Linked DNA regions of Homo sapiens: regions 2 and 3 are each linked to region 1. The links are contacts of gene promoters, found by promoter capture Hi-C in blood cells and fetal thymus (Javierre and others, 2016). All regions are on one chromosome and are shown on one strand. The core of a region is centred on a gene start or on the middle of the fragment in contact, and the rest is flanking DNA. Distances in the headings are between cores, read along the strand shown. Region 1 holds the start of PCDHA5 (protocadherin alpha 5). Region 2 has its middle 4.4 kb from the start of PCDHB4. Region 3 has its middle 6.0 kb from the start of PCDHB2.

Evidence for each region. Contacts are between HindIII fragments. The CHiCAGO score rates a contact against its expected background, and 5 or more counts as called.
Region 2: a contact is called between a fragment that was not itself captured here and the fragment with the promoter of PCDHA5 in region 1, in 1 of 17 cell types (erythroblasts). The highest score is 5.5, in erythroblasts.
Region 3: a fragment that was not itself captured here is called in contact with the fragment with the promoter of PCDHA5 in region 1 in 1 of 17 cell types (M2 macrophages); the score reaches 5.2 in M2 macrophages.

Annotation. Positions count from the first base shown.
Region 1 is chr5:140,819,677-140,823,215 of GRCh38, forward strand. PCDHA5 (protocadherin alpha 5) reads left to right here and starts at 1,937. Exons shown (of 4, transcript NM_018908.3): 1 at 1,937-3,539. The coding sequence starts at 2,100. All of the region lies in intron 1 of PCDHA1 (protocadherin alpha 1), which reads left to right. All of the region lies in intron 1 of PCDHA2 (protocadherin alpha 2), which reads left to right. All of the region lies in intron 1 of PCDHA3 (protocadherin alpha 3), which reads left to right. It also overlaps PCDHA4 and PCDHA@. The HindIII fragment of the contact is 13,774 bases long and covers 1-3,539 here.
Region 2 is chr5:141,115,601-141,119,139 of GRCh38, forward strand. It overlaps PCDHB@. Among named protein-coding and RNA genes, the nearest start is that of PCDHB4, 4.4 kb to the right of the region's middle. The HindIII fragment of the contact is 2,415 bases long and covers 631-3,045 here.
Region 3 is chr5:141,086,831-141,090,369 of GRCh38, forward strand. It overlaps PCDHB@. Among named protein-coding and RNA genes, the nearest start is that of PCDHB2, 6.0 kb to the right of the region's middle. The HindIII fragment of the contact is 4,657 bases long and covers 1-3,539 here.

The sequences.
Region 1 (3,539 bases), core at 687-3,186:
TAGCACAAATGCAAGTGATAATTTAAAAAGTAAATATAATTTAACAGATATGAAAGTGAATCAAAAGTCAAGAGTCTTGTTTCCTCCTGAAATATCTATATAAGTACATGAGATATTTTTTCCAGACTGAGAGGAGCATGTGAACTGATATTGTTGATGACTTTTTCTCCATTGAGTATATCTTTTAAAATACTCAGTATTTATCATAATACTCTGCAGATTACAATGTACACATTGTTAATACTACATTGTTAATTTGCCTTTTAAATACTTAATATTTACTTTTTTCAAAGGTTATCTTTGTGTATTTTGTATAAAATTCTACTATAATTTATTCCATAGCTTTGTAGTTTTACATTATTTACTGTTATATAATAGAAAGTGGCTAACATCAGCTAATGCTGTTTTCTAAATATTTATTATCATTTTCTTATGTTTTTAACCATTGTGTATTAAAATATTTCAAAATTATCAGTATGAAAACTATTAGGCAAATAGTCTGGGAAATTGATTTGTGTTTCAACGATCCAAATATTAGTGAAAAGTCATGATAATAGAGATAGTAAAAATCTTATAAGGGAACTGGTAAATATATCTTTAAAGATTGTATCAGAAACAATTCTATGACAATATCTTGTTTCTTTACAAGTTTGAATTCCAGAAATCAAGTGAATTTCCTCTGACTTTGCATTTTCTGGTAATTTCTTTTTTCTTATCAAGCTATATTTTAAATGTAAAAGTATCCAACAATAGAATTGCTAATCTCTTGGTCCCTCTTGTCTTCACAGGTAAGGGATATTTTGTAATATTTAAGGAATTTTATGGAGTATATATACAAGCAGAATGTTAGCTATTTCTTCAATAGAAAACTTGGTGATATTTTCTTTTGCCCATATTTATTAAGTGAAGTTTACTAAATTTTCTAGGTCGTGTTCAAATCATACCATCCAGTAAACAGTTGGGAGATTAAAAAGTAATTAAACTAATATAAAGATAGCCTGGTTAATAAAATGATATTCTTTTCAACATGATTATATTTACTGGAACCTAAACATTTTGTGAAATAGTATGTCATATAGACAATATTAGGATTTTGACTTGTTATGTAAGTACAAAGGTATGTATTTTACAATTTTTAATAATTGCTTTATCAGTAATAGCAACTTGAAGAAATGCTATCTAGATGCTTCTAATTTGAAAATAGTGCAAAGACGATTTACCAAAGTCGTTCTATTATGCTTTTGATTTCTAGAAAGCTGAAATATCCCCATTACAGTTTTTGAGTCAATACAAAAAGTAGATAGGTGTTATAGATAAAGAAATAGGTTTTCATCGATTTGAAAATTAGAACTCCGAGAAGAAACTCAGGTAAGAATGCCATTAAAATAGTTTTAGTTGTTTTTGAAAATAACATCAACAAAATGTCACTATTAAACAGTGAAATTGGAATAAAAATTTGTTTTATGAGTAACACGGAGATAGCATACAAACATTCCATTGACTAATACAGAAAAAACTCAAAAGTTTTAATTAGATATGTTTAAATAGAGATGAGAAAAGTCAAAACTTTAACTCTTAAAAGTTATTTTTATCAGTTTGGAAATATATAAACTCCTCCCTATATAAAATACACCAGCACAAATTTCTCTAGTAAGGATTGGGGTTTCATGACTTTAGATGTATTTTTCTGTAATATTTTAATGACGCACTTATATTGACGCATTTTAAGATAGAGTTTAATGATATATTTTGACTAGAGATAAGTGATTTAAAGAATAAGAATCATGTCATTGAAAGTGAGAATACTTGAGAAATATTGACGAATATAAGCTAAATAAAGCAAAACAAAATAAAACACTTACCCTTTCATCCACATGATGTCGCTGGACACCGGAAGGTTTTTCTCCCTTCCCAGCCTCAAAGGAATACAGTGAGTAGATTTTCCTTAGACAGAAAGGAAAAGAACCTTCCATTTTTGGCTGTGCCAAGAAGCTCAGAAAGGCGATAATATAAAAAATATATAGTTAATTGGGAATTGAATTTACAAAATACATTGTGTGGTGATGCAATAGAAAGCTCATAATTGGAACGAGATTGAGATGGTATATTCCCGGAGAGGAAGTCTGGGATCCCGGCTCCTGCTGCTCTGGCTTCTCCTTGCCTACTGGAAGGCAGGGAGCGGCCAGCTCCACTACTCGATCCCGGAGGAAGCCAAACACGGAACCTTCGTTGGCCGCATCGCGCAGGACCTAGGGCTGGAGCTGGCGGAGCTGGTGCCGCGCCTGTTCCGGGTGGCGTCCAAGGGCCGCGGGGACCTTCTGGAGGTAAATCTGCAGAATGGCATTTTGTTTGTGAATTCTCGGATCGACCGGGAGGAGCTGTGCCGGCGGAGGGCGGAGTGCAGCATCCACCTGGAGGTGATCGTGGACAGGCCGCTGCAGGTTTTCCATGTGGAGGTGGCAGTGAAGGACATCAATGACAATCCGCCCAGGTTCTCCAGACAAGAACAAAGATTATTCATTTTAGAGTCAAGAATGCCAGATTCGCGGTTTCCGCTAGAGGGCGCGTCGGATTTGGATATTGGAGCAAATGCACAATTGAGATACAGGTTAAATCCAAACGAATATTTTGACTTAGATGTTAAAACAAATGAAGAAGAAACGAACTTTTTAGAGCTGGTTTTGAGGAAATCCTTAGATAGAGAAGAAACACAAGAACACCGTTTATTAGTGATTGCAACTGATGGAGGAAAACCCGAACTAACAGGTACAGTTCAGTTGTTGATCAATGTATTGGATGCTAATGATAACGCCCCAGAATTTGATAAATCCATTTATAATGTCAGATTGTTGGAAAATGCACCAAGTGGGACATTAGTTATTAAACTGAACGCCTCAGATGCAGATGAGGGCATCAATAAGGAAATAGTGTATTTCTTTAGTAATCTTGTTCTTGACGATGTAAAGTCCAAATTTATAATTAATTCTAATACTGGTGAAATAAAAGTTAACGGGGAACTGGATTATGAAGACTATAACTCATATGAAATTAATATTGATGCCATGGATAAAAGTACATTCCCATTATCAGGACACTGTAAAGTAGTAGTGAAACTCCTGGATGTGAATGATAATACCCCAGAGATGGCCATAACCACCCTTTTCCTGCCTGTCAAAGAGGACGCTCCACTCAGCACGGTCATTGCTCTGATCAGCGTGTCTGACCGTGACTCAGGTGCCAACGGGCAGGTGACCTGCTCCCTAATGCCCCACGTTCCCTTCAAGCTGGTGTCCACCTTCAAGAATTACTACTCGTTGGTGCTGGACAGCGCCCTGGACCGCGAGAGCGTGTCGGTCTATGAGCTGGTGGTGACCGCGCGGGACGGGGGCTCGCCTTCGCTGTGGGCCACCGCCAGCGTGTCTGTGGAAGTGGCCGACGTGAACGACAACGCTCCGGCGTTCGCGCAGCCCCAGTATACCGTGTTCGTGAAGGAGAACAACCCGCCAGGCTGCCACATCTTCACGGTGTCTGCACGGGAC
Region 2 (3,539 bases), core at 588-3,087, 300 kb after region 1:
AATAAATGATAAAACAATGAAATAGTATCAACATGAGAAAAGAAGACTTGAATAATGTTATAAACCAACAGTACTTAACAGAACACTCCATCTAACAACAGCAGAATACACATTATTTTCAAGTGCATATGAAACATTCTCCAGGATAGACTATATTTTAGGCCATAAAACAAGTCTTAATGAATTTGAAAGAGTTAAAATCATATAAAGTATGTTTTCCAGCTACAATGAAATGAAATTAGAAAGCAGTGGCAGAAGAAAATTTGGGAAATTCACAAATATGTGGAAATTAAACATTTAAAAAAACAATGAATCAAAGAAGAAATCACAAAGGACATTAAAAAATACTCTGAAATGAATAAAAATGAAAATGCAACATACCAAAACTTATGGGATACAATAAAAGTTGTGCTTAGAGGGAAAATAATAGCTGAAATACTTATATATTTTAAGAAGATCTCAAATCAGTAACCCAGACTTCCACCTTAAGAAGCTAGAAAAAGGAGAGCATACTAAAACCAATACAAGCTGAAGAAAGGAAATTATTAGAGTGGAAATAAATAGAATAGAAAAACAATGGAGAAAATAAACTAAAAGTTGGTGCTTTGAAAAGATCAATAAAATTGGCAAAGCTTTAGCTAGGCTGATGATGAAAAAAGAGGACTCAAATTACTAAAATTAAAAAAAAGGAGGAAAAAGTATGACCTATTTCACAGGTCTTAAGGGAATACTATAAACAATTTTAAGCCAACAAATTAGAAAACCTAGATGAAATGGAAAAAAAAAACCCTAGATTAAATGGAAAACACAAACTACCAAAATTGACTAAGGAGAAATAGAAAATGTGAATAGACCTGTAATTGCCAAAACTGACTAAGGAGAAATACTAGGTTGGTGCAAGAGTAGTTGTGGTTTTGCCATCACTTTCAATGGCAAAAAACACAATTACTTTTACACCAACCTAACAAAAAACCTGAATAGACCTGTAATAAGAGATCGAACCAGTAATCAAAAACTTTCCACAAAGAAAAGCCCAGAACCAGATGGCTTCACTGGTCAATTCTACCAAATGTTTAAAGAAGAATTAACACCAGTACTTAATATACTCATTCAAAAAATAGAGGAGCAGGGACCACTTTTCAACTCTATTCTATAGAGGCCAGTATTAACATGATGACAAAACCAGACAGTGATAACACAAGGGAAAAATACATACCAATTTCTCTTATGGATATAGATGCAAACATTCTCAACAAAATTTTAGCAAACTGACTCTAGTATCACATAAAAATGATTACATACCATGGCCAAGTAGGATTTATCTCAGGAATGCAAGGTTGGTTCAGCATGTTAAAATCAAACAATGAGCCAGTTGCAGTTGTTCATATCTGTAATCCCAGCATTTTGGAAGGCCAAGGTGGAAGGAATGCTTGAGGCCAGGAGTTCAAGACCAGGATGATCAACATAACAAGACCCCATCTCTACAAATTTTTTTTAATTAGCTGAATATGGTGGCTTGCACCTGTAATCCCAGCTACTCAGGAGGCCAAGGCATGAAGATTGCTTGAGCCCAGGAGCTCGAGGCTGCAGTGAGCTATGATGGTGTCACTGCACTCCAGGGGCCTGTGTGACCTTGTCTCAAGAAAAAAAGATTTAAAAAGGGATTTGAGGCCGGGCGCGGTGGCTCACGCTTGTAATCCCAGCACTTTGGGAGGCCGAGGTGGGCAGATCACGAGGTCAGGAGATCGAGACCATCCTGGCTAACACGGTGAAACCCCGTCTCTACTAAAAATACAAAAAAAATAGCCGGGCGTGATGGTGGGCGCCTGTAGTCCCAGCTACTCGGGAGGCTGAGGCAGGAGAATGGCGTGAACCCGGGAGGCGGAGCTTGCAGTGAGCCGAGATTGCGCCACTGCACTCCCGCCTGGTCCACAGAGCGAGACTCCGTCTCAAAAAAAAAAAAAAAAAGGGATTTGAATATACCTAGTCCTAAAGTTAAAAATGTTAAATTCATACTATTTTGAATAGTCTATTTTAAAAATGAAAGAGTATTTTTAAAACTTCACCATGACTTGAGGATGGTTTTGTTCTTACTTTGAAAGGGGAGAATAGAGGAAAATTAAACATTAATTTTTGAGAGAAAGAGATAAATTTGACTATTATTTCTTTAAATCATATTTCCAATAGCACTATTTCAAAATGTTAAGCTCTCAATAATAAATGGTTACTATCAATGGTTTGTGGAATTTATTAGAAATTCTTATAAAAGGAATGATCTCCTGGAATGTTCTATTAAATGGGTACAATAGATACATCAGCTGACCATTTGAATGAAATAGCTGTAAAGCAAACAATAGTGCTCAGTGGTGAAAGCAAAGTAAATTTTACATTAGCTAACTTTCCAAACTTAAACCTATAAGATATTTTTAAAGTCACACTCACTGAAATGTACATGTAGGAAGGGGATACTTGAATAATTAGAGTTTGACTTGAGAAATTTGTGATGGAATCTAAGATAATTTCTAATAATTTTTTCTAGAATAAAAATAGCATTTATAAGTTTAATATATCAAAATACTCAAATATGTGATATATAACTTAGAATATATCTTTACAATCAGAAAGTGTGGGCTTTTCAACTTTGTTCCTCTTTTCCCAAGATTGTATTCTGGGTACCTCGCATTTTCATGTGAATTTTACGGTCACTTTACCAATTTCTGCAAAAAAGCCAACTGAAATTTTGATAGGGATTGCACTAAATCTGTAGAGCAATTTGGAGCATACCAATATTTTAACAATCTTAAGTCTTCCAATCCATGAACACTTTTCATTTACTTAGATCTTCTTTAATTTCTTTCAATGATGTTTTGTAGTGCTCAGTGTTCAGTTCTCCCACTTCTTTTGTTAAATTTATTCCTAAGCATTTTATTCCTTTTGATGATATCTATTATAAATTCCATTGCTTTCTTGATTTCATTTTTGATTTGTTCAATGCTACTGTATAGAAATACAATTGATTTCTGTATAGTGATCTTGTATTCTGCAAGCTTGCTGAACTCATTTATTTATTTTAGTAGTTTTTGGTTTTATTTTTTTGAGAAAGAGTCTCACTCTGTCACCCAGGCTGGAGTGCAGTGGCACAGTCATGGCTCACTGAAGCCTCAATCTCCCAGGCTCAAGCAATCCTCCCACCTCAGCCTCCCAAGTAGCTGGGACTACAGGTGCATGCCACCACCTCTGGATAATTTTTTTTTTTTTTTTGTAGAGACAGGATCTTGCTATGTTGCTCAGGCTGGTCTCAAACTCCTGACCTCAAGTGATCCTCCTGCTTGGCCTCCAAAAGTGCTGGGATTACAGGCATGAGCTGCCATGCCCAGCCTCAAATTTCTTTAAAATGATTTTTATCTTTCTTCAACGATAAGGTTCTTGCCTATATTTTACCAGAGAGCAACTAGTTTCCTGCGTATCCCTCTATTTTATCTTTCTTTGTATATTTAAAATGAAAAAAATTAAATATCATGCTTCAGATCTGGCAACCA
Region 3 (3,539 bases), core at 649-3,148, 270 kb after region 1:
ATCAAAAATGATTAATTCTTTGGCAATTAATATCATAGCATATCCAGTACATTAAATGTCATGTAAAACAGACCGACAAAACAATCTTATCTTTTTTTTCTTTATGTCAGTGTTTAATACTCTCCTGTATGGCTTAGGAAAATTAAAGAAGATACAACAGAATATGCCTCAAATAAGACCTATTTGTTGATATTTAATATATTTATGATAGTTGCTGATAAAATGAAAACAGACATTATTCAATACACTGGATAATAATTACATAAATACAAAGTGTTTGGTGTTTTCATTTGCCTTTCTCAAATACTTTTTTTCTTTCTAGAGAGTTTAATGCACTGACGGGGGGTGGGGGGCGGTCCTATAATGGCACTGCAGGCTCAAATGGTGGTTAAAGCAGATTGCAAATACAGTGCTGTATGTTTCATATTATATTACCCTGTCTGTGAAAGTTGTATTGGATGTCTAAGATTCTGGTGGCATAAGTAATAGAAACATTAGGGTGATCAGAGTTTGTGTAGGACCATATTTGCTGGAAGGTGTTAGAAGAAGGAATAATGTAATACTTAAAGCCCAGTCTAAAACAAAGTGTGATTCTGTTTTACTAAGCATGTACCATTCAGGATACTGAACTGCAGAATTCTGTTCCAGAGGTGCTGGAGAGTGGTTCCTTCATTGCTAATTTTGCAGAGATTTTGGGCCTTAGGATGGGGAACTTGAGAGGTATGGGGAGCGAGAGGGTAATTCATGTTTCTATAGATTTAAAAAACTGCATTTTCAAATCAAAAGACTCAGGAGTGGGTACTAAATAGAAATTGGATCCATCTGTGAGTCTCAAAGCACCTTGGAAAAATGTAACTCATTTGAGTTACTCATTTGCCTTGAGAAAGGTAACTTGGAAAAATGAGTTACATTTTTACAAGGTGCCTTGGACTCACAGATATAGCCATTCACTAGTGTGTATTACTGGATCTAGGAATGCTGCAAAAAATCAAGGAGAGCATCTTGTAGAGACCATATAGATGGCAGAACATGTAGACAGAGCAGTATTCATAAGTATATTTTGAATCCTAATTCCCATGTCTTCTCTTCTGTTTGCTTAGAGAATGGTGGCAGAAAATATCCTGAATGAGGATGGGCAATTTTCTCAGTGGAAAGAAATGGGTTGAGGTTAATTTAACTATCATGATATTGGATGGTGGGTCCCCACATAGATCCAAATCTGCATTGGTCTTCACCAAAGTTGTGGGTTATCAGTGATTTTACTCAGCTGTAATATATAGTAGTTCAGTACAGTAATCCCAGAAAAAAAGTTTTTCCTCCCTGGCTATCACTTTTCTATCAGGAATTTGGATACAAGGTATAATATAAAACTATCTTTAAGGTTTTACCGGGCTACTGAAGACTTAATGAAAACTTTAATAAAGCATTTACATTGGTATAAAAGTACCAAAAGCAAACCCATCACTCAAACCCGTAAATTCCAAGGCTATACTAATCTACAGTGTGGATTCTGAGATCATCAATAATTAAAGACTCTAGAAAATGTAACTTCTTGCTGTAAAAGACAGTCCACTCCTAATCATCATGTCATCATTTATGAACTAGGTCCCAAGGAGCCATATCTGCTTTAAGACCATATCTGCTGTTTCCTGTGTTTCAGATCCAGATCACAGAAAAAAAAATAGATATTTGGGCTTCATAATACCACCTTCCCTTCACCCTAAAGCCTTCAATAGAGGTAGATTAAAGACAAGTACAATTCTATGATTACTGCCAGAGATCTGGAGTTACTGTAAGCTGAAAGGAAACAATATAACCAGGTCTTCATTTTCACCAAACTGCCTCTGCACTTATCAAGTATGAAAACACAGCCCTAGAGTGTGCATTTTAGCAGCACACTGCCATAAACAGAGACTTAGAAAAACACCCAAGTAACTTATTTGCTTCTGGTTTCCCAGGATGTGCAGTACTCCATGACAGTGGACACAAAGAATCTGTTTGTAAGGCCCATAAGAGTCAAGTTCTGTATGAGAGAAACAGACACTACTACTACCATGAGCTAGCAGCATGGTGTTGGTGTGGTTGGTAATATTTGATGGCAATGGCAATTCTCCTTTGTGTTATATTTAATGCAGAACGGATTATGTGATGTTCAAGGTGGTGGCAGTAGAAGGAGACTAGGTCTGGAAGGTCTTCATGTCCTATCAGTTACTCAAAGACTTGAGTCTCCATCTGTATAGCGTGTTAGCCCAACACTGGGAAGTGTGCACACTAGGTTTGTGAGTGATGGTAATCTAGCCAATCATAGACTTCAGGTTATGGTCAAGGACACTGAGATGCCACCTATGTATTCCAGATTCAGACAACAACTGCTGCTGGTCAGCTGTTTCTTTCAGCTCTACTGGCTACATCTTGACAGACCTCAGGAATATGGGGTCTGTCACTTAGATTCCTCACTTAGCATATACTATGGTTTTAGTATTCCTTTGTTTTCTTGTTGGCCTGCTTCTTTACACAGTAGATGTTCAAATAATTACTGTGATATGAAAATATGTTATAATTTTCAAGTATTTCCTTATATTTCTTTAGCATATCTAAATTGATTATTTATGCTTTGTATTTTGTAGTCAGAGTTTCAGGTTTCTTCCCCTCACCCCGTATTCTTTGCCCTCTCTACACCTTTGGATTTCTTCATTATTTACTAATTTTCGATATTGTATTTAGCCATATTATTTTCTTTTCTTTTTTTTTTTTTTTGAGATGGAGTCTCGCTCTGTTGCCCAGGCTGGAGTGCAGTGGCGCCATCTCAGCTCACTGCAAGCTCTGCCTCCCGGGTTCACGCCATTCTCCTGCCTCAGCCTCCCGAGTAGCTGGGACTCCAGGCGCCTGCCACCATGCCCAGCTAATTTTTTGTATTTTTAGTAGAGACAGGGTTTCACCGTGTTAGCTAGGATGGTCTCGATCTCCTGACCTCGTGATCCACCTGCCTTGGCCTCCCAAAGTGCTGGGATTACAGGCATAAGCCACAGCACCCAGTCCATATTTTCTTTTAAAGTAAAATTTCAATAGTGATCTTAGTGAAAATTCAATCATCTACCAGATTACCTAAACCTGATTTAAGTTTTAACCTATTTTAATCATAAAAAAAAGTCTGAGATTTTTGGAAGAGGTCATACCTCTGTCTCTCTCATCTCTATTTCCATCTATATCTGTCTATCTAGCTTTATCTGCAGTCCTGGTCAAGATTTTTATTTTCAAGGGGACAGATTGTCCTAATAGACTCTGATGGTTCTCCTTAAACAAAATTGGGCAAGATTCTTGTGCAGGTATCATTTTAAAAACCTTTTCTTGCTTATTTGTACTGTGGGAAGAGAATAAACAACACCATTTCCCCTTTTTGAGTTATATTTATTTCTTGTTTCATTTGCTTGTTTGTTTGTTGTTGTTGTTGTTGTTTGAGACAGGGTGTCGCTCTGTCTCCCAAGCTGGAGTGCAGTGGTGTGATCTCGGCTTACTGCAACCTCTGCCTCCAGGGCACA